Linked DNA regions of Homo sapiens: regions 1, 3 and 4 are each linked to region 2. The links are contacts of gene promoters, found by promoter capture Hi-C in blood cells and fetal thymus (Javierre and others, 2016). All regions are on one chromosome and are shown on one strand. The core of a region is centred on a gene start or on the middle of the fragment in contact, and the rest is flanking DNA. Distances in the headings are between cores, read along the strand shown. Region 1 holds the start of PSMG3 (proteasome assembly chaperone 3). Region 2 holds the start of TTYH3 (tweety family member 3). Region 3 holds the start of MAFK (MAF bZIP transcription factor K). Region 4 holds the start of INTS1 (integrator complex subunit 1).

Evidence for each region. The method cuts DNA at HindIII sites, captures the fragments that hold promoters and counts their contacts. A CHiCAGO score of 5 or more calls a contact.
Region 1: a contact is called between the fragment with the promoter of PSMG3 here and the fragment with the promoter of TTYH3 in region 2, in 1 of 17 cell types (neutrophils). The highest score is 7.6, in neutrophils.
Region 3: the fragment with the promoter of MAFK here is called in contact with the fragment with the promoter of TTYH3 in region 2 in 2 of 17 cell types (monocytes and M1 macrophages); the score reaches 6.6 in monocytes.
Region 4: a contact is called between the fragment with the promoter of INTS1 here and the fragment with the promoter of TTYH3 in region 2, in 2 of 17 cell types (neutrophils and monocytes). The highest score is 11.2, in neutrophils.

What each region holds. Positions count from the first base shown.
Region 1 is chr7:1,567,498-1,571,641 of GRCh38, reverse strand. It overlaps PSMG3 (proteasome assembly chaperone 3), which reads left to right and starts at 1,610. Exons shown (of 2, transcript NM_032302.4): 1 at 1,610-2,518; 2 at 3,792-4,144. The coding sequence starts at 2,303. The coding sequence ends at 3,944. It overlaps PSMG3-AS1 (PSMG3 antisense RNA 1), which reads right to left and starts at 1,569. Exons shown (of 5, transcript NR_027329.1): 1 at 1,363-1,569. RefSeq lists enhancers at 559-608, 619-688, 1,312-1,880, 3,587-4,144, 4,035-4,144 and silencers at 989-1,068, 1,509-1,938. The HindIII fragment of the contact is 7,479 bases long and covers 1-4,144 here.
Region 2 is chr7:2,629,646-2,633,905 of GRCh38, reverse strand. It overlaps TTYH3 (tweety family member 3), which reads right to left and starts at 1,920. Exons shown (of 14, transcript NM_025250.3): 1 at 1,628-1,920. The coding sequence starts at 1,750. RefSeq lists enhancers at 410-519, 299-1,031, 1,764-2,495 and a silencer at 1,570-1,979. The HindIII fragment of the contact is 11,109 bases long and covers 1-4,260 here.
Region 3 is chr7:1,527,606-1,532,088 of GRCh38, reverse strand. It overlaps MAFK (MAF bZIP transcription factor K), which reads right to left and starts at 1,387. Exons shown (of 3, transcript NM_002360.4): 1 at 1,191-1,387. RefSeq lists silencers at 668-797, 1,288-1,557. The HindIII fragment of the contact is 17,285 bases long and covers 1-4,483 here.
Region 4 is chr7:1,501,447-1,505,691 of GRCh38, reverse strand. It overlaps INTS1 (integrator complex subunit 1), which reads left to right and starts at 1,303. Exons shown (of 48, transcript NM_001080453.3): 1 at 1,303-1,369; 2 at 1,691-1,789; 3 at 2,501-2,791. The coding sequence starts at 1,732. RefSeq lists an enhancer at 1-211 and a silencer at 1,098-1,657. The HindIII fragment of the contact is 9,546 bases long and covers 1-3,294 here.

The sequences.
Region 1 (4,144 bases), core at 361-2,860, 1.1 Mb after region 2:
GCCACTGCACTCCAGCATGGACAACAGAGACTCTGTCTCAAAAAAAAAAAAATGCACAAAGCAAAAAAAGAATGAAGCAACAAAAGCAGAAATTTTTTGAAAATGAAAGTACATTCCATGGTGTGGGGGCGGCCAAAGCATAGAGGCTCAGGGCCCCATTACAGAACTTGTGAGGTTTAAATACCCTCTAGGGGTTTCTACTGGTTACTTGGTGTACGCCCTATGTAAATAAAGAGGATGAAATAAAGTTACAAAATCATTTACTCAGTGTACACCCTATGGAGAGGGTATTTCCTGTCATAGCTGAAGTGTTCCCTGCCTCCAGACCCTGTTTTCCTGCCTCAATTCCTTTACTTTTCTAATAAACTTGCTTTCACTTTGTGGACTCGCCCTCAATTCTCTCTTGGGGTCTGGATCGGGACCCCTTTCTGGTAATATAGACAGAAAATACGGCCTTGACATGGTTGTCAGGAAACGACAGTAAGGCCTCCGAGGGTGGGGTTCTGAAGGGATGTTAAACGCCCCACCCCGAGGAAGGCTCTGGAGGCTCCAATCACTTTCAGCCTCTGCTACCAAGATGTCCGACCCTACCAATAAAACTTCCAGCAGCGGGGCGCGGTGGCTCACGCCTGTAATCCCAGCACTTTGGGAGGCCGAGGAAGGCAGATCACCTGAGGTCAGGAGTTCAAGACCAGCCTGACCGACATGGTGAAACCCCATCTCTACTAAAAATTTAAAAAGTTAGCCGGGCCTGGTGGCGCACGCCTGTAATCCCAGCTACACAGGAGGCTGAGGCAGGAGAATTGCTTGAACCAGGGAGGCGGAGGCTGCAGTGAGCCGAGATCGCGCCACTGCACTCCAGCCTGGGTGACACAGCAAGACTCCGTCTCAAACAAAACAAAACAAAAAACCTTCCAGCTTGGAGAAACTGAGAGTGAGCAGTAGGGAGTGAGGGGGTCCCTGGGAGGAACCAGAACTCATCCCGCTTCAGGGTGGGGCTGGCCCCCTTCTTGGCCTTGGCCGGGGCTTCGTGTCACGGAGCGCCCGAGGGACGGTCGGAGCCCACCCCAGCCCGCCCGCCGCCTGAGCCTGGCCGAGCTCTCTGCACCTGCACACGTCTGTAAAACGCGGATGAAACGCTTCTACGGAACCGGGTGGCTGAGATGAAGTGAGTTATGGGTATAAAGCGCTTAGAGCGATGCCTGGCGGACACTCGGTGCCAAATAAGCGTTCGCTGTGGCGACGATGACGCCTCCAGCCCAAAGCCCGTGGTCGAGCAGGGCCGGGCTCCCAGCGCTAGGGGGTTCCTAGGCGCGGCGCTTCGGGGGTCCTGGACACAGACACGGGGGACAGAGCTCCTACCAGCGACGATCCCGAGGGTCTGCAGCAGAGGGGCTGAGGCCCGGGACGGGGGTGGTCGCAGCGCCCTTTCCTGAAAAAACGGGGTTCGGCTCTAAGGCGCCCCCAAGCCCTGCCGGCAGCGCGGAACCCGAGCCGCTCAGAAGCCCGGGAGCCCCAAGTCTCCGGGACCAGAAGCGCCGCGGCCCTGACTTCCGGAAGGTGGACGGAACCCGCGGACGGGGCGGGCCCGCGTGGCGCACGCAGAGCCACTTCCGGGCGCGGCGCCGGCTTGGTGAGCGCGGGTACCCGCGGGCTTCCCCGGGCGGCTGCGTCCCCAGTAGCCCGGCCGGCCTCGGCACCGCGTGTCGTGGGGGTCCCGGGCCGCGGCTGCAGGGCCGGGGCGGCGGCGAGGCCGAGGGGCGGGAAGCCACTGCCCGGCCTGGCAGTGTGAACGTGCAAGTCGATCCCCTAACCCAGAAAGCCCCAGGCGCGGTCTCTATGGGCGGCCCCGCTCCTGCTTCTGTTTTATTTTTTTACGGACAGGGTCTCGCTCTACCGCCCGGGTTGTAATGCAATGGTGTGATCACGGCTCACCGCAGCCTCGACCTCCCGGGCTGAAGCGATCTTCCCGCCTCAGCCTCCTGAGTAACTGGGACCACAGGCGCGCCCTGCTGGTTTTTTTTTTTTTTTTTTTTGGTAGAGATGGGGGTCTCGCTATGTTGGCCAGGCTGGTCTCGAATTCCTGGCCTCAACGATCGTCCTGTCTCGGCCTCCCAAAGTGCCGGGATGACAGGCATGAGCCACCGCGCCTGGCCCCTTCTTTTGAATGGGCCTCCTTGCGTTTCCGTTTCAATGCCCCGTGCTACTTTTTTGGGAGCCCCAAGGCTGTACTGTTTGATTGACTCCTTTTTTTCCCCTTTCTTTTTAACCTAAATTAAAGCTGCCACTGCAGAGCCCCGCCATGGAAGACACGCCGTTGGTGATATCGAAGCAGAAGACGGAGGTGGTGTGCGGGGTCCCCACCCAGGTGGTGTGTACGGCCTTCAGCAGTCACATCCTGGTGGTGGTGACCCAGTTTGGGAAGATGGGCACCCTGGTCTCCCTGGAGCCCAGCAGCGTGGCCAGTGACGTCAGCAAGCCTGTGCTCACCACAAAAGTCCTTCTGGGGCAGGATGAGGTAAAGTGGATTGGCCGGGAACTGTGGCTCACGCCTGTAACCCTAGCACTTTCAGAGGCCTAGGCGGGCAGATCGCTTGAGGCCAGGAGTTTGAAACCAGCCTGGGCAACACAACAACACACACACAAGTCACTACAAAAAAACAAGTGCCTACACAAAATATATATATAGAGAGAGGCTGGGTGCAGTGGCTCACACCTGTAATCCCAGCACTTTGGGAGGCTGAGGCGGGCAGATCACTTAAGGTCAGAAGTTCCAGACCAGCCTGGCCAACATGGGGAAACCCCATTTCTACGAAAAATATAAAAATTAGCTGGGTGTGGTGGCACATGCCTGTAATCTCAGCTACTCAGGAGGCTGAGGCAGAAGAATCGCTTGAACCCGAGAGGCGGAGGTTGCAGTGAGCTAAGATCGTGCCACAGCACTCCAGCCTGGGTAACAGATAGAGACTTGGTCTTAAAAAAAAAAGGAAAAGAAAAGGAAACAAAAAATTAGCTGGGCCTAGTGGTGTGTGCCTGTGCTCCCAGCTACTTGGGAGGCTGAGGTGGGAGGATGGCTTGAGCCCTGGAGGTTGAGGCTGCAGTGAGCCATGATTGTGCCACTGCGCTCCAGCCTGGGTGAGAGAGCAAGACTCTGTCTTTAATAATAATAATAATAATAATAATAATAAAGTGGTCAGGAAGGGACCCCCAGGGAGGAGCATAAACCTCTCCAGTGGCTGTGATTTGTCAGTAAGGACATGGGGCATCTGGCGGACAAATACCCCTACAGCGATAGCATTTTCCGGGCATTTGTGGGTCTCAAGGCGCCCTGCTTGCCCTCAGTGGATGCTTTGTCCAGCCCGCAGGCATTTTATCCAGCAGACAAGCAGAAGCAGCAGTTTTGTCATTCGAGCCGCCTCCCCTGCCATGGTACATTACGTGAGCAGGCGGCTGGCTGTGCTGTGCTCTGTGGAGATCACACGTGAGATTCGACAGCACTCGCTTCTGCAGGCTTCTCTTTCCTGGGTTCTTTTAGATGAGAGAGAGCCAGAAGAGGCGGGGCTGCGGAAGGCGCTGGGAAAATGAATGGAGTGATGGTCTTTAGCAGTGTGCCCGTGACTGGAGTGTTCTGAGTGCTGCCAGAACTCTGAGTCACAGTTGCATGGACTTATGTGGCGGTTAATGGTGGTGTGGGAAGCCTGCCTGGGTTCCTAAGGGATACTTCATGAAAGCATTGAGGAAAAAACCAGGTTTCTTGCAGTTAAAATGGTTTCTTCTCCTTCCTTTACCAGCCTCTCATCCATGTCTTTGCAAAGAACCTGGTAGCGTTTGTGTCTCAAGAAGCTGGAAACAGAGCAGTCCTCCTCGCCGTGGCCGTGAAGGACAAAAGCATGGAGGGGCTGAAGGCGCTGAGGGAGGTGATCCGGGTGTGCCAGGTGTGGTGACCTGGAGGCAGCCGCCCCGCGCTGCTCAGCAGGACACGTGAACACCCAGACACCCACTCAGGGACTCAAGTCTCACCTCCCTCCCCGGTGGAGGGAGGAACTTTGGCACTAGCCCTTGGAGCCAGGAAAAAAGACTCGTGTCTCAGGCAGACTCTTACTCTGGTTACTAAGATCATCTGTGCATGACGGGGAGGGTGGAA
Region 2 (4,260 bases), core at 671-3,170:
TCACTCCCTCTCACTGCCTGTCTCGAATGTGGGAATGCAGGCACCCCGGAGGGCTGGAAGGAAGTCCAACTGTGGCTGGCAGCTCGGGCAGGTGGCAGCCCAAGGGGCAGCAGGAAACAGCCGCCCCCCACGCCCCAGGGCTGCCCCGGAGCTTAAGAACTGACAAATGGGCCAAACCCTCAGGGCAGAGAACTTTCCAAAGTGAAGCACACCCTCCTTGCAGCTTCAACAGAGTCCTCCAGGGACAAGTGGCAAAGCCATCAGCATGGAATAAGTTCCAGAAGTTCCTGAATGTGCATTGCCCCCACACTGAACGGTCCCCCAGGGCTGGGCTTCTAGAACGCAGGCGTGAGATTTTATACCAATCCTTCCGCCTCCCTCCTCCCTGCTGTGTCTGGGCGTGCCTGGGCCGATCCCTCGCCCCCTTCCTCATCTGTTAGGAAACGTCATCGGCTCGGCTGGGGGGCCTGGGTGCAAGTGAGCGCGAGGCTGGGAGCAGTGGGCTCCCAGGTGCCCTGCTCCTCCACTTCCGCCTCCCTCCTCTGGATGCGGGAGGCCACAGACAACGCAGTTCTGAAGAGTCCAGGTGCTAGGCTGCCCGCGGAATACCGGATTCCCAAGCCATTTTGATAAGCAAAGCCATCCCCACCCCACCATGGGGCTCTGCCATGATCCGTCCAGAGAGAAACTCCGGGTGACCAGGGACCCTGGTCACGGGGCTTCTGGAATCCGGATCTCTAGGCAGGAAGGAAATGCCCACAGCTTGGTCCCCTGCCCCGCACTCAAATGACAGTAGCTTGGCGATGGGGGTGGTGCTGGGGCCTGGCATGATGCCAGGCTAAGGGCTCCCCTGGGAGAGGGCTGCAAAGGGCCCCCAGCCGCCCCCCAGGTCTGCCTGGGCTCAGCCGCTTCCAGCCTCCCTGCCTGAGGCCCACGGTGCTTCCTGGCCGCCGGGCCTCCCTCCCCCGGGGGCTACAGGCAGCCTGGTCTCCCACGGCCACACACGGCACCCTGTGTACATCCCACAGCCTGACCGCCAAGCAGGGGGTCATTACCGGCCACAGAGGGCTGGCGGCGGCCCAGGCCATTCACCCACTGGAAGCCTGGCAGTGGGATTCCCCAGTCGGGGGTGAGTGGGCGAGGAGTCTCTGCCTGCCTGCACCCAATGTGCTCAGGCACCCGCTCTGATCTCAGAGCCTGGGGGTCATCTGGGGAGGGGTCTCTGCTGGGACACAGCACCAGGCCGCCAACAGTGATGGTGGAGAGGCCCTCCACTGGCCAAGGGGGCTCACGGAGTGGGGAGAGGCAGCTCCATGAAACCCAGGGGCCTTAGTGACACCAGAAGGGAAGGCCAGAATCGGGAGGGGGGCCGTGGACCCTCACTGGGGGTTGGAGGGTATTTAGACCTTTGAGGAGGAGGCCATGACCCTGGAAGAAAGGGTCCTAGGACTCAGAAGGGACCCTCGAGAAGGAAGGAGGCCGGTACCTGCGAGGAGGAGGTGGCCGTGACCCTGGAGGGGGGGATGAGGGGTCTTTAGGCCCTCGGGGATGGGGGCCGTGACCCTGGGAGAGGAGGGGGCCGTGACCTGGGGTCCCTGACCCCGCGACCCCGAGAGGCCCATGTCACCTGCTGGTAGTCGGTGTCCTCGGGCCGGAACTGGCTGCTAGTGGCCTCCCAGCTCAGGTCGAAGTGGGGCAGCCGGTGCAGGAGGCTCACCCACCAGGGCGCCGCGTAGCTGACCCCGGCCATGGCGGGGCCCGGCCGCCTCCGGATGCGCGCGGCCTGCGCGGGGCTCCCTTGCTGGCCCGGGGCGCGGGCTTCAGGGACCCGTCGACCCCCGCCTGGCCGCCCGCATCATCCGCGCGCTCCTGGGCCCGGCCCGGCCCGGCTCGGCCCGGCTCGGCTGCGCTCGGCTCCGCTCGGCCGCCCGCGCCCGCCGCCTCTTTGTTCGCCGCCGCCGCCGCCGCCCCCTCCGCACCCCCGCCCGTCCGCCCGCCGGCCCCGCCCCCGAGCCTCCATTGGCCCGCCTCCCGCCAGCCCAGCCCCCGCGCGCCCCGCCCTCTGTCCCGCCTCTTACCCACCATTGGTCTATCCCCCGCCGATCCCGCCCCACAGCGTGCCCCGCCCACTCGCTCCTGAACCTCTATTGGTCCTTTTACCTGATGGTTTTGCCCCTCCACTCGCATCCCCGCCCATTACCCAATGGCCCCGCCCCTCCACGTGTCCCCGCCCTTCGGCCCCGCCTCTGTACCGTCATTAGTCCGCCGGCAGAAGCTCCGCCTACTTCCTCGCCTTCTTGGAGGGACGCCTGGCCCCTAAGGCGCTGGAAGACCGACCCTCAGCGCTGTAAGACCCGGGCCAGCCAGTCTTTCCACGTGGCCGTGGGGGCTGGAACCCTGGCTGCATATGCAGCTGCGCTTCATTCCATGAATTCGCTCTTCGTTTGGATCTTTGCATGTTTCTTATTTGACTCGAGGGTCCGGCCTGGTGGGCTGGGCTGGTCTTGGCCTCCCCATTGCACACACAACAGCCCACAGCCCGCAGCGCCCAGCAAGGCACCGAGTGGCCTATCTGTACAATGGACATGATCTGGATTCAGGGCCTGGCTGGGGCACCTAGAGCTGTGTGATCTGGGGCAAGTTACTTAACCACTCTGTGCATCGGTGTCCTTGTCTGTAAAAGGGGATGATAAAGCTACGAGTGTTGGCAGGGCGTGGTGGTGGTTCATGCCTGTAATCCCAGCACTTTGGGAGGCCGAGGCAGGCGGATCACCTGAGGTCAGGAGTTCGAGACCAGCCTGGCCAAAATGGTGAAACCCCGTCTCTACTAAAAATACAAAAATTAGCCAGGCGTGGTGGCGGGCGCCTGTAATCCCAGTTACTCTGGAAGCTGAGGGAGGAGAATTGCTTGGACCTGCGAGATGGAGGTTGCGGTGAGTGGAGATTGCGCCACTGCACTCCAACCTGGGCAACAGAGTGAGACTCCATCTCAAAAATAAAAAAAATTTTTTTTAAAAAGGTACGAGTGTTAAGTGGATCCGCAGGTAGATTCAGTCCCCATCCGGCCTTCCCTCTGGGGAAGGTTGAGTCTTTTGTCAAGACCTAAGATGAAGACGGTGCCCTGTTCTGGTGTCCTGGGGCCTAAAAATTCAGGCACCTGCCAGAGAGGGCCCATCATGGGCTTTGGAGCCACACAGCCAAATTTCCTAACAGGGCCTCCCCATGCCTGTGCCTCCTCCTTTGCTAAAGGGGAGATGGGAGCTGCCAGAGCCAGGAGGATGGACATAGTGCGTGCTTGGGCCCAGGTGCACGCCTCCCTCCGCACTCTAGGGCAGTGGGTGCATCCTGGCTCTGCTTCATCACCTGGGGCCTTATTCCTGGACCTCCTGTGTACTGAGAAACAGGTTTCCACACCCGGGCTCCACCATCTGCTGTGCCCGACTTGGCCAGCTCTGTGGGCAGGCAGGCCGTTCCTGGCAGGAAGAGCTCTTTGCAGGCAGGGACGGTTCCGGGCAGTGTCTTCCCAGGAGGCCTGGACTTTGGCTCATTGACTGCCCTGACTCGCCTGTTTTCCTGTGATAGGGCACCGGGCAAGAGGGACTAGCTGAGCTGCGGTTTCCACCCGCTGGATAACTTGGAGACACCACCCAGCTGGGAAATAACAGCCAGGCAGAAGGGGGGAGGTCGCATTCTCCATCCCTAAAGGCCGAAGAGCCAGAAATTTGGGGTGGGGTGGGGATACTGGCTCAGGTTCCTCTCTCTCCAATGCCAAGGATGGTGGGAGCTCCAGGCAGAATGAAGCCCCCCCCAACCCCCTAAGACCAAGGCTACCTACTTGGAGTGGGCTGGTACCTGGCCAGGTGAGTCCTCTTCTTTGGCGCCAGCTGATTGCTCACTGTGAACAGGTGGCTTAGGCAGGACGCCCACTCCTAGCCTGACACTGCTCCAGCATCCAGCCTGTGACCTCATCTCCACAGCCAGGGGATCGCCTGCACGGCCCGTGCCCTGGGCTGACTCTGACCTCAGAGTTCTGTGTCGCATAACTCCAGGGATGAACAGGGCAGTCCCTGGCCAGCTGCAGAAATTGTCCTCATGGCCTGAGATCGTTTCTGGTTCCTGCTGTTAGCAGCAGCTCCCATGGCCACAAACAGACCTCCTGCTTCCCCCCACCACAACTCCAGTGCCCTCCACACCAGCCTGGCAGCCCTGCCAGGGTACACACATGCAGGCAGGGGGTACAGGAGTTCCTTCCCCTGTTTC
Region 3 (4,483 bases), core at 138-2,637, 1.1 Mb after region 2:
ACACAGATATCCCCTAGACCACGATGGGGGGCGGTGGGGGGCGTTTTGAGTCTCAGGATCTTCCCAAGGCCAGGCACCTGGCCAGAGATTGGCTGGCTGCCTGTGGGTCACCTGGTGAATGAATGGTGAGTGGATCTAATTTCTGCCTCAGCTACAAGAGCTACTTAAGAAGCAAGAAAACAGCATGCTCAGGGACGCAGGACACCAGGAGAGGGACACGGGAGGCCCCGCGAACACGGACACACACGGTGTGAGCGCGAGAATGCAGTGCAGGGCCACTGCTGTGTCCCAGGCGGACCCAGGTCAAGGGCCAAGGCCAGGCGGGGTCCTGGCTTTCTGGGTTTCTCGGTGGCGCCTGGTCCCACCCCCCAGGATCTAGAGGCTGTGCAGACGCAGACACACACAGTCACGGGCACATACACAGTTTCCTGAACTTGACAGAGGCACAGAAGAACTCACGCAGTGGGAGCGGGAAGAGGCCGGAGCCCCTGCCCCACACGTGAGCAAAGGGACGAGCCTTGGGGCCACTGTCACCTGCCCCCCTCCCGCCTCCCCACGGCCTTCCTTCCAGCAACCCTGGCAGGTGGGCGGCTGAGAGCGACACCAGTCCCAGGATCCCGCCTGTGGGGAGACCCGGTTACCCCCACCCCGTTCCCGGGCACGCGTGACCCCAGCCACTGGGCCAGAGCGCCGCCCGTCACCGGGAGGAAGCGCGGGGGGCAGTCCGGGGCCGCACGCGGAAGCCACGCTGGGGCGGAAGCCGCGGAGAATCCACGCGCCCGCGCCCTCCCCGCACCGCCCGCACGTGGCGCCCGCCCCGCCCCGCCCCCCGCAGGTGTGAAGGCGCGGGCCCGATGCGCGCCGCCGACCCGCGTGGATCCTCGTCCTCCCAGGTCTGGGGTCCGCGCCCTGGGGCCCCCGGCGCGGCAAGCATGGCCCGGGCGGCACGTGCAGGGGAGAGAGCCTCGCGTCCCGGGGAAGCCCCCGGGCCTGCGGGGCGGGGCCCACCTGGGCAGGTGCCCGGGCCGCGCCGCGGGCCGCATGAGGGTCTCGGGCCCCGCGCACCCAACCCCGCCACCCTCGGCCCGCGCCCCCAGGCGGCCGTGACTCAGCGGCCAGGTAGCCCCGGCCCCGCGCCCCGGTCCCCGTCCCCGCCGCGGCCCGGGCCCCGCTGCCCCACCGCCCCTCACCTGGCGTCGCGCGGAGGGCGCGGGCGCGCGGCGGCTCCTCGCGGGCACGCGCTGTCCTCGCGCCGGCGCTCACTGTCGCGCTCCCCTCGGCCGCCGCCGCCGCCTGGCGCTCGGGCTCCGACTTCGCGAAGAACAACAAGTGCCCCCGCGCCGCCCGCCGCCACCGCACCCGCCCGCCCGGCTCCCCAGCATCTGACACCGCTTCCGGGATCCGCGGCGCGCGCGTCACACCGCCCTGCCCCCCGGGCCACGCCCCCTCCCCGCCCCGCGGCCACGCCCCCCGGCCACGCCCTCCTCTCCCGCCCGGGGGGCCGCTGGCCCCGCGCGCACCTGCAATCCCCGCGCTTTGGGAGGCCCTGCGGGAAGATCTCTGGAGGCCGGGAGTTCAAGACCAGCCTGGGCAACATAGCGAAACCTCCCTTCCCCCATTCTCTGTCTCTATAAACATAAAAAACATTAAGGCCAGCTGGGAACGGTGGCTCATGCCTGTAATCCCAGCACTTTGGGAGGCCAAAGCAGGAGGATCGCTTGAGCCCAGGAGTTCCAGACCAGCCTGGACAACACAGTGAGACCCCCATCTCTACAAAAAAATTACAAAAATTAGTCGGGCGTGGTGGTATGTGCCTGCGGCCCCAGATATTCAGGAGGCTGAGGCAGGAGGATGGCTTGAACCTGGAAGGTGGAGGCTGCCATGATTTCATCACTGCACTCTAGCCTGGGTGACAAGGTGAGACCCTGTCTCAAAAAAACAAAACAAGCAAACCAGCAATGTAAAAATGGGGATAAGCGGCTAGTGATCACAGCCTCTGTGGGTGGGGCCAGCCCCCTTCTAAAGCCCCAGCTGGTGGTTGCCAGGGGACACAGCAGGCCCAGGATGGGGTTAGGGCACCACTGGCCCAAGGAGTCCTGTGAGGGATCCTCAGGTGGGGGCGGGCCCCTGAGGGAGCTGCCTCTGCTTCCTGTCACAGGTGGAGGACAGGCTGGAGAGGGGATCCGTCTGGAGCCCCTTGCCACGCTTCTGGGTCCCCAAGTCCCGCCCCCCTCTGAGCGCTGCAGGAAGAGGAGTTTCAGGCCTGGGCAACCGAGGGCCCCCCAGGACACCCATGGCATCTGCCCGGGGTTCTGGGAAGCCTGTTTTCTCAGCTCAGGTGGGACCCGGGAGCCTGTTTTCTCGGCTCAGGTGGGACTCAGGAGCCAGTGCAGGGAGGTCTGTGCATCTTCTGGGTGTCGTCCTTACCACCATGTGGCTGGGGATTTAGGCAGCAGCCCAGTGGCCTCTTGCTGTGGAGCGCGGGGGCAGCCTCCCGGGCCATCTCTCCCCCCCACTTGCGGGTTCTGCACTGGCCACCTGGGAGGCCCCTCCTTGCTAAGGCCCACACGGCCGTCTGGGGCAGCTAGCCACAGTGATGCCTGCAACCTGGCCGCAGAAACAGGTGCCAAGAAATAACTCAACAGCAGCAGTAGCGACAATGTCCCACGTCCCCAGGATGTTTGCAGAAAGACATCCCCCGGGGATGGGAAAGGTGCTTCCCTTGTCCTGGCCCACACTCTGCACTCGGGGTCCTGGGATGCGCTGGGAGCCTCCAGAGAAGCTGTGGCCATCTCCGCGGGACTCTTTACGTTACTCATGGTGTCGCTCCTCTAACCCAAATGCATTCTTTCCATAGCAGGCTTTTGTTACTAATCACACACTTTTATTATCTCTTTAATTTTTTAATTTGTATTTATTTATTTCTGAGATGGAGTCTCACTCTGTCGTCCAGGCTGGAGTGCAGTGGCACCATCTCGGCTCACTGCAGCCTCCGCCTCCCAGGTTCAAGTGATTCTCCTGCCTCAGCCCCCTCGAGTAGCTGGGATCACAGGTGCCCACCACCACGTCTGGTTAAATTTTGTTTTTGTTCTTGTTGCTGTTTTGAGATGGAGTCTCACTCTGTTGCCAGGCTGGAGTGCAGTAGCACGATCTCGGATCACTGCAAGCTCCGCCTCCCAGATTTAAACAATTCTTCTGCCTCAGCCTCCTGAGTAGCTGGGACTACAGATGCCTGCCACCACGCCCGGCTAATTTTTTTTTTTTTTGTATTTTTAGTAGAGACGGGTTTCACCATGTTAGCCAGGATGGTCTCAATCTCTTGACCTTGTGATCTGCCTGCCTCGGCCTCCCAAAGTGCTGGGATTACAGGCGTGCGCCACCACACCGGCTGATTTTTGTATTTTTCGTAGAGACGGTTTCACCATGTTGGCCAGGCTGGTCTCGAACCCCTGACCTCAGGTGATCCACCCGCCCTGGCCTCCCAAAGTGCTGGGATTACAGGCGTGAGCCACTGCATCCAGCCTAATTTTTAAAATTTTGAATTATTTATTTATGTTTGTTTTATGAGACAACATCTCACTGTCGCCCAAACTGGAGTTCACTGGTGCAATCACAGTTCCCTGTAGCCTCCACCTCCCAGGTTCAAGTGATCCTCCCACCTCAGCCTCCTAAGTAGCTGGGACCAAGGGCTGGTGCTACCACGCTTGGCTAATTTTCTTTGTTTTTTTTTGTAGAGACAGGATCTTGCTCTGTTGCCTAGGCTGGTCTTGAACTCCTGGGCTCAAGTGATCCTCCCGCCTCGTCCTCTCAACGTGTTGGGATTACACGCATGAGCCACTGTGCCTAGCCAAAGTTTACTTTTTATTGTGGTAAAGTAAACATCACATAGAATTTACCATTTTAACCATTTTTTTTAAGTTAAAAAAATATTTTTTCAGAGATAGGGTCTTGCTACGTTGGTCAGGTTGGTCTTGAACTCCTGGCCTCAAGCAATCCTCCTACCTCAGCCTCCCAAAGTGCTAAGATCACAGGTGTGATTAGGTGAATAGGCTGGGCATGGTGGCCATCACACTAGGCCAAGTTAACCATTCTAAGTGTACGGTTCGGTGGCGTTAAGTACATTCACGTTGTGGTACAAACATTGCCATCATCCATCTCCAGAAATTTTTCATCATTTAGTAGTTCCTTTTGTAAAAAAATGTTAAGTTCTGGCTGGGCAAGCTGGCTCACGCCTGTAATCCCAGCACTTTGGGAAGCTAAGGTGGGTGGATCACCTGAGGTCAGGAGTTCAAGACCAGCCTGACCAACATGGAGAAACCCTGTCTCTACTAAAAATACAAAATTAGCTGAGTGTGGTGGCGCATGCCTATAATCCCAGCACTTTGGGAGGCTGAGACGGGCAGATCACCTGAGGTCGGGAGTTCAAGAGCATCCTGACCAACATGGAGAAACCCCATGTCTACTAAAAATACAAAATTAGCCA
Region 4 (4,245 bases), core at 54-2,553, 1.1 Mb after region 2:
CAGCTGCTCAGGGGTCAGGGGAGACCTTCGACCCTTTGACTGGATGATTCCCCCACCTTTTATTTTTATTTTTTTTTAGACAGGGTCTCGCTCTGTCGGCCGGCTGCAGCGTAGTGGCACCATCATAGCTTACTGCAGCCTTGACCTCCCAAGCTGAAGAGATCCTCCTACCTCAGCCTCCTCAGTAGCTGGGACCGTAGGCATGCACCACCATGCCTGGCTAATTTATTCTTGATTTTTGTTTGTAGAGATAGGGTCTCACTATGTTGCCCAGGCTGGTCTCAGACTCCCACTTTGGCCTCCCAAAGGGCTGGGATTAGAGGTTCATGCCACCATGCCCAGCTAATTTTTATTTTTTTGTAGAGATGGGGGTCTTGCTATGTTGCTCAGGCTGGTCTCGAACTCAACCGATCCTCCTGCCTTGGTCTCCCAAAGTGCTGAGATTACAGGCATGAGCATCACACCTGGCAACTGTATGATCTTTTGTGTCTTTTGAGTTTTGTTCCCATCAGTGTTTCCATTAAAAAAAAAAAAAAAAAGGCGTGGGGGCGGGGCGGGCGCAGTAATTCCAGCACTTTGGGAGGCCAAGGCGGGCGGACCACCTGAGGTCAGGAGTTCGAGACCAGCCTGGCCAACATGGTGAAACCCCGTCTCTACTAAAAACACAAAAAAATTAGCCAGACATGGTGGCGGGCGCCTGTAATCCCAGCTACTCGGGAGACTGAGGCAGGAGAATCGCTTGAACCTGGGAGGTGGAGGTTGCAATAAGCCGAGGTCGCGCCACTGCATTCCAGCCTGGGCGACAGAGCGAGACTCCGTGCCAAAAAAAAAAAGAAAAAAGAAAAGGGTGAACTTTGTGGAACACGAGTTCTATCTCAATAAAGCTATTATTATTATTATTATTATTATTTGAGACAGGGTCTCTCCCCGGGAGCCCCCCGGGCTGCGCCCCCTCGCCAGTGCCTGCGCCCCGGCCGCCCCCGCTCTCCGGGACGTGCAGAACCTGCCACTTGACTCATCCGCGGATCCCTGACGCCACTCCTCCCCGCCGTGCGTCCTGGAGTGCGTCCCTTCGCAACGCCAGCACCACCTGTGAATGGAGAGGCCAGCGCCTGCCCCGCGCCGCCGACCCACCTGGACCGGACCACATGCGCGCGGCGCCGGCCAGCCCGCCTCCCGCCGCCATGGGGCGCTGCAGGCATCAGGCCGGCGCCGCGGGCCTCTCGCGCCTCCTTCTGGGCCCGCTTCCCGCCGCACTGTTTTCCTTCCGGTTGTTCCGGAAGTCGGGTCCTCGAGGGCGGTGAGATCGGTTTCCGATTCCGGGGTGGCCGGGTGGCGGCGGCGGCGCTCCGGTCGCGATGGGCCAGAGGTAAGTGAGCCGCGGCCTGGGCGCTTCCTCATTGCCGGGCGAGCGCCTGGTTCTCCCGGCTACCGCTCCCGGCCTCTGGGCCGTCCCTTCTGGTTCTGCCGCCTCCAGCCCGGCGTCCGCGTCGCCTGCTGCCGCCCGACTGAGCCGCTCCCGGGCGGCTGGGAGGCGGGGTCCCTGCAGCTCCTGCAGCATCGCCCCGCCGGGCGGGCGCGGGACCACTGTCCCCGGGTCCCAGGCCCAAGCCCCGTGCGGCAAGGGAGCGAATGAGCGAGCGAACGAGCGAATGAGTGAAGGAATGACCGCACGCTGGCTCCTCCGCAGGTGACGCCGCAGCCGCCGGGAGCCGCGAGGGACGGGGCAGGATGAACCGGGCCAAGCCCACCACGGTGCGCCGGCCCAGCGCCGCGGCCAAACCCTCAGGTGCGTCTCCCTCCTCGCTCTGCAGCCCGGGGGTCTTTGGGGGTCTTTGGGGGTCTTTGGGGATCTCAGCTGCCGCGGATCCTGCGTTGGGCTTGGTTGTTCCGCAGCCGCGGCTGTTTCCAGGAATTCGGTCTGGAAACACTGCTCTCGGTCCTCAGCGGCTCTGAGAGTCCCTGGGAGGCTTGGGACAGTGGCGACTTCCTTCGGGACCCCGGTGATCTCGTTTCAGGCTGAGCTGCAAGGCGGCCGACAGTAGCGGAAGGTCTCCCCAGCCAGGAGGCGGGAGGCAGCACAGTGTAGCGTAGCACGGGGTCTGCGGCTGAACTGTCGGCTCAGATCCTCCGGACTTTGCCACTCGCCTGCTGTGTGACGCTGGGCACGTCGCTTAACCTCTCTGTGTCCCTTTCTCTCTTGTAAAGTTAGAGTAATAGCACCTATTGCGGAAACTCGGGGCGGGGGTTACTAAGCACACTAATTTGGATAGACCAGAGATGGCCTGGTTTGTGGTTAGCGCTACGTGACTGTCCACCATCACCTGTGCGTATCCTGCTGGTCCCAGCTCTGCTGTAGGCTGCTGAGTGAGCTCTGGCTTCTTCCTTGCCTCCTCTGACCCTTGTTTAATCCCCTCTGACATAACAGGAGGTTAGAGTCAGTCTTTTTCCATCTTGGGTGTTGCAAATGTGCCCGGTTTTCTCTCTCCTTTCTCTGCAGGGCACCCTCCCCCAGGAGACTTCATTGCTCTGGGCTCAAAGGGTCAGGCCAATGAATCGAAAACGGCGTCCACCCTGCTGAAGCCAGCCCCTTCCGGCCTGCCTTCTGAGCGCAAGCGGGATGCGGCGGCCGCGTTGTCCAGTGCCTCGGCCCTCACCGGTCTCACCAAACGCCCCAAACTCTCCTCCACACCCCCTCTGAGTGCCCTGGGGCGCCTGGCTGAGGCTGCAGTGGCAGAAAAACGAGCCATTTCTCCGTCGATTAAAGAGCCATCTGTGGTGCCAATTGAAGGTAATGAGTCTGTGGACATCCCCCGAGAACACCCCTCAGCTCATGCCGTCCATCAGGTGTTCAGGGAAGGCCCCCTCCAGGCCTAGTGCTGCCCGTATGGCCGAGGTCCTTTGGGAGAGCGGATGTTTGTGGCTTGTTCTTGGAAGTGCTTCTCACGTAGATGCCCTTATCCCGTGTGTGCATCTGCGTCCTGCACTGCCAGTGGCTGCCCTTTGAGAACCGGGTCACTCCCTTATTGAGTTGTTTGTCTCATGTGTCTGTTGGACGCCCCCTTTGTGACGGGCACTGTCTGAGCCCTGGGGGTAAACCGGGCGTGACGACACCCCAGGTGTCTGTTCTCAAGGTTGCCCATCCTGGTGCGTTCCTCTCTCAACCTGAGCGGAGGCGATGTGTACTTGGTTCCTCCTTCCCTCCTGGTTACCAACAGAGAAGAGTTGATCCCCTCCCTGTTTTCAGTTGAAAAGCAGCAGAACAGTAAGGACATCAACGGGGGAATGTAAGCTTCACCACTGTCCCGTTCTCGCAGAAATGCCTTTAACTGTGTGCCTAGAATCGCCCCTGCCCCTCTGCGCCATTTTCCCAACGACCATTTCTCAAGGCTCCGTGACTCCCTGGGAGTCGCTCTGGCAGCTATCGCACCAGCCCCAGCAAGCCTCATGGTCTGCAGTGTTTTGTTTCTGTGGGAGCATCTCTTTTGGGTAATTTCTTTGTAGGAGTCAAAAAGAACAAGTGTCCTGATGACTTTGGTAGTGAGGTGTCTGTTCAAGCCGCGCCACCTCTGGTTACTGAGTTTTGTGCCAGACAGGACCCAGGGGACTTGTGGGCTGTGGCCTTGCCCTCAGGGAGGGACCAGGCTGCTGCAGTGCAAGCCTGTGAGTGAGTCCCCGACGGCCCTGGAAGGGAGGAGGCCTGGCAGGGAGTTGCAGTATGGGCTTGGGCCTGGAAGCACAGGCGATGAAACCGGGGCAGGCAGGAAAGGGAGATGCCAAGCAGAGAATGGACTGTGCCCAGGGAATGGAGGCCTGGCCTGGCCTGGGCAGCACACGCTCATGAGAGCTGAGGCTGGGCGCTGTGGGCAGTGTTTGTGCTGGACTCAGTTGGCATCAGGGAGCCCTGGGGGCAAACGGCCCAGGATGGCACAGCTGGGGGACTGCTTTAGGAGGTCGAGCCTCAGACCTCCCATGAGGCGTGTCCCTGGGCAGCTGGTGCCGGTGGGGATTGAAGACAGAGACCACAGGCCTCATCCTGGCCCGGGCTCTCGGCCGCCGGCGGCTCGGTGCTTTATTTATCTTTAGCACTACCTCCTGTAGAAAGGAGGTTTTGAAGATGAGAGGAGACGTGGTTATGAAAAGCGTATTCTGAGTGGTAGATCACTTTATAGTATTATTCTCAGCAAAACAGAGAGATGGCTGCATCCAGCCATTTGTGGTAAATGTCCCAGGCTGTCCCTCCAT